Regions from separate parts of the Homo sapiens genome. Here all the other regions are linked to region 3. Evidence: promoter capture Hi-C in 16 types of primary human blood cells and fetal thymus (Javierre and others, 2016). All regions are on one chromosome and are shown on one strand. Each heading gives the region's core, a stretch centred on a gene start or on the middle of the fragment in contact. The rest is flanking DNA. Distances are from core to core; before and after follow the strand shown. Region 1 has its middle 140 kb from the start of FAR2. Region 2 has its middle 160 kb from the start of FAR2. Region 3 holds the start of PTHLH (parathyroid hormone like hormone).

Evidence for each region. Contacts are between HindIII fragments. The CHiCAGO score rates a contact against its expected background, and 5 or more counts as called.
Region 1: a contact is called between a fragment that was not itself captured here and the fragment with the promoter of PTHLH in region 3, in 1 of 17 cell types (M0 macrophages). The highest score is 5.8, in M0 macrophages.
Region 2: a contact is called between a fragment that was not itself captured here and the fragment with the promoter of PTHLH in region 3, in 1 of 17 cell types (M1 macrophages). The highest score is 5.8, in M1 macrophages.

The regions. Positions count from the first base shown.
Region 1 is chr12:29,004,150-29,006,895 of GRCh38, reverse strand. No RefSeq gene overlaps it. Among named protein-coding and RNA genes, the nearest start is that of FAR2, 140 kb to the left of the region's middle. The HindIII fragment of the contact is 366 bases long and covers 1,249-1,614 here.
Region 2 is chr12:28,984,271-28,986,979 of GRCh38, reverse strand. No RefSeq gene overlaps it. Among named protein-coding and RNA genes, the nearest start is that of FAR2, 160 kb to the left of the region's middle. The HindIII fragment of the contact is 5,574 bases long and covers 1-2,709 here.
Region 3 is chr12:27,971,320-27,974,181 of GRCh38, reverse strand. PTHLH (parathyroid hormone like hormone) reads left to right here and starts at 1,449. Exons shown (of 6, transcript NM_198965.2): 1 at 1,449-1,659; 2 at 2,163-2,255. The HindIII fragment of the contact is 3,977 bases long and covers 1-1,529 here.

The sequences.
Region 1 (2,746 bases), core at 182-2,681, 1.0 Mb before region 3:
CCTCCCTTGGAGGCCTGGAAATCAGGGATCTTTTTACTCCTTCCATTGTTTTGCCTTTTCCAGAATGTCATGTAATTGGAATCATAAAACTGTGTAAGATTTTCCCTCTGGTTTTTAGGTAATTCTTTCCCCAGCTTGGGCAGTTTCTTCACATGCATATCATGCTCAGTACTCAGCTGAAGAAATGAGGGTGGGATTCTGTTGCTTTGGGGGACTTCTTGTCTGTGCAGGCCTCTCCTTTCTGACTCTTTGCCTGAATACTCTAGCCTCTTGGACATTTCCAAAGTCACAAATCTTGTCTGTTCTACTTTGGGAGATAACTGGGCAATTCCTGCATTTTCCTTCCCTGTGCAGAGGCCTGGAAACCTTTGCTGGGGTAATCATGGGGATCATCTAATTTTGTATCCATTCTCTTGGAGATCACTGCACTGTTTGATGTCTAATGTCTGAAAACTATTGTTCATTATATTTTATCTTTTTTAAAAGGCAGTTTTTTAGGTGGGAGGGTAAATATAGTCCTAGTTTCTACATCTCTGTGAAAATGAAAATCATGTTAATTTTTAATAGAGAAAAGATTCTTCAATTTTAGATAATTAAACATTATTTGGAGGGAGGGCTTTTAACTCCTGGTCTCTACTTCATAGAGATCTACTTAATCAGGCTGTCTGGCAAAATTTGGGTATTGGCATTTTTACATGACTTCCTGAAGTCCTGGTGCAGATTGTCAAAGTATTAAAATTTAAGAAACACCTATATCTTAGTCTGTTTGTGTTGCTATAAAGGAATGCCCAAGGCTGGATAATTAATAAAGAAATGAGGTTTATTTGTCTCGTGGTTCTGCAGGATGTACAAGAAGCATGGCGCCAACACCTACTTCTGACAAGGGCCTCAGGAAGCTTCCACTCAGGGGGGCAGCCAAGGGGAGCCAGCATGTGTAGATCACATGGTGAGATAGGAAGCAAGACGGGGAGGAAGTAGCCAGGTTCTTTTTAACAATCAAGTCTCAGGGGAACTCTCACAGGAAATAATAGAGCGAGAACTCACTCACTACCACGAGGATGGCACCAAGCCGTTCATGAGGCATCGGCCTCCATGACCCAAACACTTTCCATTAGGCACCCCCACTCCAACATTGAGGATAAAATTTCAATATGAGGTTTGGAGGGGCAAATATCCAAATTATAACAACAAAGACAAGTAACTTAAAAGGAAGTTGGACTGAAAAATCAGAATCCCTTTGTGGAAGCTTTTATATAAATAATGAGAAACTATTTTAGGTTTTCATAACGTCCAAGAGAAGTTTTATAAGACTATTCTGTCAGCTTTTCAAATTAAGGCCAATATTACCCAAGTGTATACTCTTTAGCCGTAGATGAAAAGAAACCCCTAGGAACAAATGAAAGTTTAAATGAAACTGCTCATTTAAATTAAGAATGTTAGTGGCACTTTGATTACATGTGTTGCTCAATCAAAATGGAAGGCTATTTTTTTTTAGCTTCATTTAAAAAACTGCCAGGACAATATAGCTGCCTTTAATTACACTCTTCTTTTGATGGGCTTTTATATATTTAATTCTACTTCTCTATTACCAGTGCTTAAAAGAAGAAAAAAGCTTTAAAACCTTTCTGATGAAAGACAGCTAAGATAAAAGATTTCATCAACAATCAACTATAAAAATTATTAACATGAGCCCATTCAGTTATGAAATAATGAAAATACATAGATCACAGTTTGTTTCATGGCTCATGTCAGTGAGTGAATACATTGCACAGACAGGAATATTAAGAAACTCAGACAGAGGCTCTGATAACACTCATTAATTAAATGAAAGGTCTCTGCTTCAACTCGGTTGCTCGACATTTTCCTCTCCTCTGTCAGCATGTTTGTTTCAAAATAACTTTTCACAGACTTGATAGATTCTGACAAAACTTGGAACACTCCAAGATTTACCCATAATCTCAAGTCTGAATTCTCATTCAATCGTGAAACAAAAATTGTTTCTGTTTTATTTACAGAATGGAGAAAACCATCACCATAAGATATTACTATGAAGTTATGTAGTTTTGTAGAAAACAGAGATAAAGATGCTGTAATAATTTCAAGTCTATAATTTGTGGCATCAGCAGTATTTCAAACAACACCGCAATTTTTCTTCTGCCCAAATGAATATGGTCTTTCATCTTGCTCATGCAGCTCATCTGTATACCACCAATCAGTTTGCTAGACCCTTGATAACTTTTTAAGAAGACTGACCAAGTGTGTTAAACTTCCCGGAGGTATCAAATTTAATCTGAGTTGAATCTGTGGCTCACTCCATTTTTTTATTTAAAATTGTAATCAATATAATTTGTCAAAGCTTGTCATTTATACTTTCAAATACATTTTTGTTAAATTTGATATATGATCAGAGTGACTAGATTATAAATGAATTTATCAAGAAAAAAGCTGAATCTGCAAATATTAACAATTATATATACATTGGCCCTAGGCAAAAAATCACCACTAATGAACATCATGAAACAATTTATTATTACTCAAAAGACTTCTGTGAGGCAGATTAAAGCCTTGGCATCATAGAAGGTCAGAATCAAAAGAACCCCAAAGGGTATTGTGAAATCACATATCTGATCTTTGGATTCCTTGCACTGCATCTCTGACAAACTCAACTTGGGCTTTAATGTCTCAGTGACTTGCACCTCACTTCTTTTGAAGCAATTTATTCTGTCTTTAGCGAGTTTGAACTAAC
Region 2 (2,709 bases), core at 97-2,596, 1.0 Mb before region 3:
CTATCATTGGCTGCCATATTGCCAACACCATTTACCATTTTCTTCTCTCCTATTTCAATCTGCTGTGTTAGTGCCTCACGGCTTTGTCAAAATTTGCTGACGCTTTTGTCACCGCTGAGCCACAGGGGACCTCATCCACAGGTCTCTGGCTTGAGGTGCCACTAGTGCCCATGAGTGTCCCTACTGCACTAGTTGCACAAGTAACATTAAATATACAAGTAAGACAGGTATATAAACAAAGTGTAATAGGATTGCCTAGTAGAAACCTGTTAGTTCTGCTCAGCGAGGAAAAATTGGAAGGGTCACAGAGTGCTCTCTCTAAAAGGACACATTTATTTTTCAGTATAAATTACAAGTAGGATGTCAACAAATAGAAAGGGGAGAAAGGCATCCCAGGACTGTGGAAGTATATGGACAGAAGCACAGAGATGTAAGATGTCATAACATAGTCTAGGAAAAGAAAATGAGGCCCCCTCTCAAAAGTAACATCAAAGTGTTGAGAATAACAAAAGAATTTAGTACAAGGCCATATGATGTCTATAAAAGATGGGGTATGCATATTCACTTTTCTACAATTCTACTTTCCTACAGTAAAATGAGAGGTGGAGTTGATGGTATTTCTCTTCTCGTTAAACAATAAAAAGGATTTAAATTAAAATCCCTTTTACATTAAAATAGAATTTGAATTAAAATCCTTCTGAGTGAAGTCCTGGATTGGAGATGGTGGGGCGGGGTTTAGAGAGTAACGGAGCACATTAACCAAACGCCTGAACAAGTAACCTCTAAGGGCTCCAAAACCATAACTACCATAAGCAAACTTCACCTGGTGATAGTAAGAAAAAAATTTTTTTGAGGCAGGGTCTCACTCTGTTGCCCAGGCTGGAGTACAGTGGTGATCACAGCTCATTGCAGCCCTGACCTCCTGGGCTCAAGTGATCCTCCTGCCTCAGCCTCTCAAGTACCTGGGACTACAGGCATGTGCCACCATGCCCAGCTAATTTTTGTATTTTTGGAGAGATGGGGTTTTGCCATGTTGCCCAGGCTGGTCTCAAACTCCTGAGCTCAAACCGCCTGCCTGCCTCAGCCTCCCACAGTGCTGGGATTACAGGCGTGAGCCACCATGCCTGACCAAGTAAATATTATCTAAGTTCAGTTGTCTGAGAATTTACCTTGAAGAGTCTCTGCCATGACCAAAGAATGTTTTTTATAGTAATTAGTATATTTGTTAAATTGGATTCGAAATACCACTATGTTTTCCAAAATGGTAAGTAGTTTTGGTTGGAGATTCTGATTAAATTCACAAAAACCACTCGGGCTTCATTCTAAGGGATAACAATTTGTGTTGAGATTCATGCTCCTGCACACACACAGCCTTTACCTAATGTTGATGGTGCCAGGAAATCACATGCTTACATTAAGTAAAGGCTGTGCATGAGCAGGAGCATGGGCAACATGGTGAAATCCTATCTCTCCAAAAATACAAAAATTAGCTAGTATGAAGGAGGACAACTCGATTGTCACCTTTTTAAAATATTTTATGTCAAAAAGATAGTTTGCTTTATTGAACTATAGATTCTTATGGGTATCTTTGTTTATACTTCCTCCACTACCTCCCCAAACCACTCAAGAGGAGCATGCACACTGTTTTATAATCTCCGCCAACTACTCCAGCAATGTTGTTCTTGTTTGGGTTTTTCTCTTTTTCTTTTTAGTGTAGATCAGTTGTGCTCTATATTAAAGCTCTCAGAGGGTAGAGTCTAGCATGCCACTATTTGAAAATAGACCATGAATTAATGCTTTTAAATGATGATGATCATAACAATGCTGTCTCGTGTTCCACATACTGACTTTGGTTAGGCAGTGTAAAAAAAAAAAAAAAACAAATGCACCTTTTGGAGCAGCAGAGGACTTGAAAACCTCCCAGAAATTTCAGAGACAGACTTCTCTGCTCATGTGTCCCAGAGAATTTCTCATTGCTATTAAGTCATGCCTCTGGTTGAATAAAGGGATTTTCTATACGCTAAATATCAGTGTGTAGGAAGACTGCCCCTGGAGACACACTGGGAATTGCTGCATGTCAGTTTCATTCTCTTTCAGCCTTACCTTTCTCAAGCCCTCCTCTCTGACAGACCTACAGATTCTCACAACATAACACTTTGCACAACAAAAAGAAGACAATAAATAACAAAAATAGGGTTGAAGACTACTATGTATTAGGGTCTTCACTAAACAGTTTCCATAGAGATGACATTTGTTCATCACAGTAACTCAGCAATCCCTAAGTTAAAGACACAGAAACAGGCTTTGAACAGGTTAAGGAAATTTCCCAAGGTCACAGGACAAATATGCAGTAGGACTGAGATTCAAACCAGGTTGACTGGCTTCAAAATCCATGCTCTTCAGCATAACACTCTTAGTTTCCTTCATTTAACAAAGATGGTCTGTGACTGGGGAAGATGGAACAGGGGCTTATCACTGTGGACCTTAGGGGCTGTTGTTATTCCATATTCTTTCCAGTGACATGAATAATGAACATAGAGATTAGCTCAAAAGACATCTGGATCATGCTGTATTAAGACAATTATCATAATATCTTGAAAGATTGTTTTTTAAAAAAGAGAAATACATGGTTAATAGTGGAATGATGGTTAATAGGAAAAAATACAAGAACTTAACCCAAGGAATAAACTGTAAAATAAGTAAAGACCA
Region 3 (2,862 bases), core at 200-2,699:
ACTGGGACACTGCACATTCATATTCTCTCTCTCTCTCTCTCTCTCTCTCTCTCACACACACACACACACACACACACACACACACACAGAGACATATCTGAAGAAGACTCTTCAGATATGTTTCAATTGTCAGGAGTTTGCGAGGTGCTCAAGTGCTTGACCTTTAAGAACCGGTTCTCAGAGACCCCCATTTCCTAAAGACCTTCTCATCTCACATTGGTTTGGGTTCCTCCCAGGAAACCGCCTCCTCTCTGGGCCTCCTGCTTCAGTTTGGGGGAAGCAGAACATTGCCCAGGAAGTAGGGAAGGGTGAGGAAGGGTGTGAGGCCCACTTTTCCCATGGGAGGATCCCATCAGCTTGATGCATATCTATACACTCCTCCCTGAGGCAGTTCCTCCAGAGGTTAGCAGCCCGCCCTGTTCCTGGAGAAGTCTTATCCTCACCTAACTACAAAAAGATTTAATAAAGAAACACACCCTTTCCTATTGTTACTTGGGGTTTGAAGGCATTACATCTTTTTTTCTTTTTTGCTACCTTGAGGTCAGCTGGCAACAGCCTCCTCTCAAGTCTCAGTCCAGGCGAGCGATGAGAGCCACATTCTAATGGAATCCAATGAGAGCATTACTTGAGCTGATTATGCAACGTCTCTTTGTAAACATTGAAAAAAGTTTGGAGAAGAGATGGGATGAGTTTAGTTGTTTGGTTCCAGGGGATTTTAGAGACATAGCTTGCAGCTACAGATTGGTAAATGTGAAATCTGGATGCTTATTGGTAATAAGAGAATTCCCAAGCCCAGGTGCACTGTTTAAAGTGCTATAGATTCATATTTGGTTTATAATGTATATCTGTTTGCTGTTTGGGTTAAGGAGGAAAGAAGAAAGAAGGATGAAGAGGCTAAGCATAAATGCTATTTACTTTTTTCTAAGCTATGACAGGAGATATACATTAACTGGGTATTCAACTGAATTTAAGAGTAATGCATTTAAAATTTTTTCAACCTCTTTTAAAATTTGATATACTGTAATAAACTGCCACTGGGGATGGGAAGATGGAAGCCTGGTGCTCATGGGCTAGGCATTTGTGTAGGTGTAGATCTTATAATGCTAAACATGGAAATACTTCAGATTAGAGGCAGGCCTTCCCATTTGCTAAGGTGCATTTACATGACAGCAAGGCCTAAGCAAACATTTAGCTTCTATTGGCACTTGTTCTATTTCTAAACCTTAGAAAAAAGGTGTGTGTGTGGGCTGGGGGGACGGGGGGGGGAGGGAGGTGGTAGGGGGTGCTCTTGCTGTGTCTCATTTGCAGTCATGCATCCTCTGCATTATTATGATGGAGATTACTCAGTTATGTTAGGAACTAGATTATGATGTCAGAAAATATCCTTTCCAAAACAGGCAAAAAGTCAGGGTCCTGGGTATATATTGAGGAGAATTTCTACGGAAAGTAATAAACAGGGCAGCTTGGAAGAGGTACCTGCTTTCTAATAATTGCCTTTAGTGGGAACAGAAGTCTCCTTTCAAGAAGCTTTTAATTCATTTTAAGATTTAATTTTATGTTTTCTGAAGAACAACAAAAAATATTTCTGGAAAAGACTGCTGAGAAGATTTCCCTCTTTCAGCCAGAAGAGCAGAGAGAAGATTGTAAATCAAGGAAAAGGTGAAGTAATAAATTAGGAGGGAACTTTGGTATTCCGAGTATATAAAGACTATTTATTTTTCCTGTGTCTATATTTTCTCTTTTTGTGGAGGAGAGGAAATTCTAAAAATATTTGATAGATGTTTTGCCATTAACACCAGAAAAGTGTGTGGGGAAAAAGAAAGGAGGGAAGGAGTGGGGGGTTAATTTTGTTTAATTAGTAGAAAAAGCAACATAAATCAAAGCAGTCTATTGATGCCAGTCCTTAATTTATAATGTTCTGAAAGTAAAGTGAATTTATTTACAACATAAGTGATTTGATAATTTCAATCTGATTTTTGTTTTAACCTTCTATTGGGAGAAGGGTTGACTTTTTAAAGCCTGGATAGTTTGAAACTTGGCTAGGTACCTTGGACTTTTTATTGTGGAAGCAAATATTATCATTTCAATGTTAAACAACTTGCAAGTATTAAATGGCTCATTTGTGATTGACTTTTTTTTTTTTTTTTTTTTTTTTTTTACAGATTTCCCCCTTCAGATCTAACGATTACATTAGGGCTCCTGCATCTTTTTGGAAGGATTCTTTTTATAAATCAGAAAGTGTTCGAGGTTCAAAGGTTGACATTTCTGAGTGCTGATACTTTGTCCTTTCATACTATCCAAACAAGTCTAACATTTAGAAATCCTTACACATTCAAGGGAAGTTGTGGAAATTCCCAGAGAGAGAGTGTGTGTGTGTGCGTGTGTGTGTTTTGGTTTTGTTTTGCTTTTTTTCTTTGTTAGTGAGAAGAAGCCGAGTCTTTTAAGGTACGGGGTTTACAGTAATGAACTGAGGAAGGCAGGAGCTTCTAAGAAAATATGCCCCCCCACCCAACCTAAGCAGTAAACTTTAACTGCTAGCTAGCTGCAGTGAACCAGTGGGAGCCCCGATGAGCGAGGGTCTCGGTGACAGCGTGCTATTTCTCCCACCCTGGGTAAAATATGTGGAGCATCACCCGGAAAGTCGGGCTTGATAAAGGCCACATTCCTTGAATCATCTCAAGAATCTAAATCACACTAGCCTTCTAGAAACTAATGAACCCTACCAGCAGGATTGCCTAGAAGACAAATATCCCTTGAATGGTTCCCAGTCCACTCGCGCTCTTTTCAAAAAGTTAGAGGAGCCCTGGGGAGGGTATCCACTCCCGCTGCAATCCTTTCCTAGATGATACTACCCAGTAATTC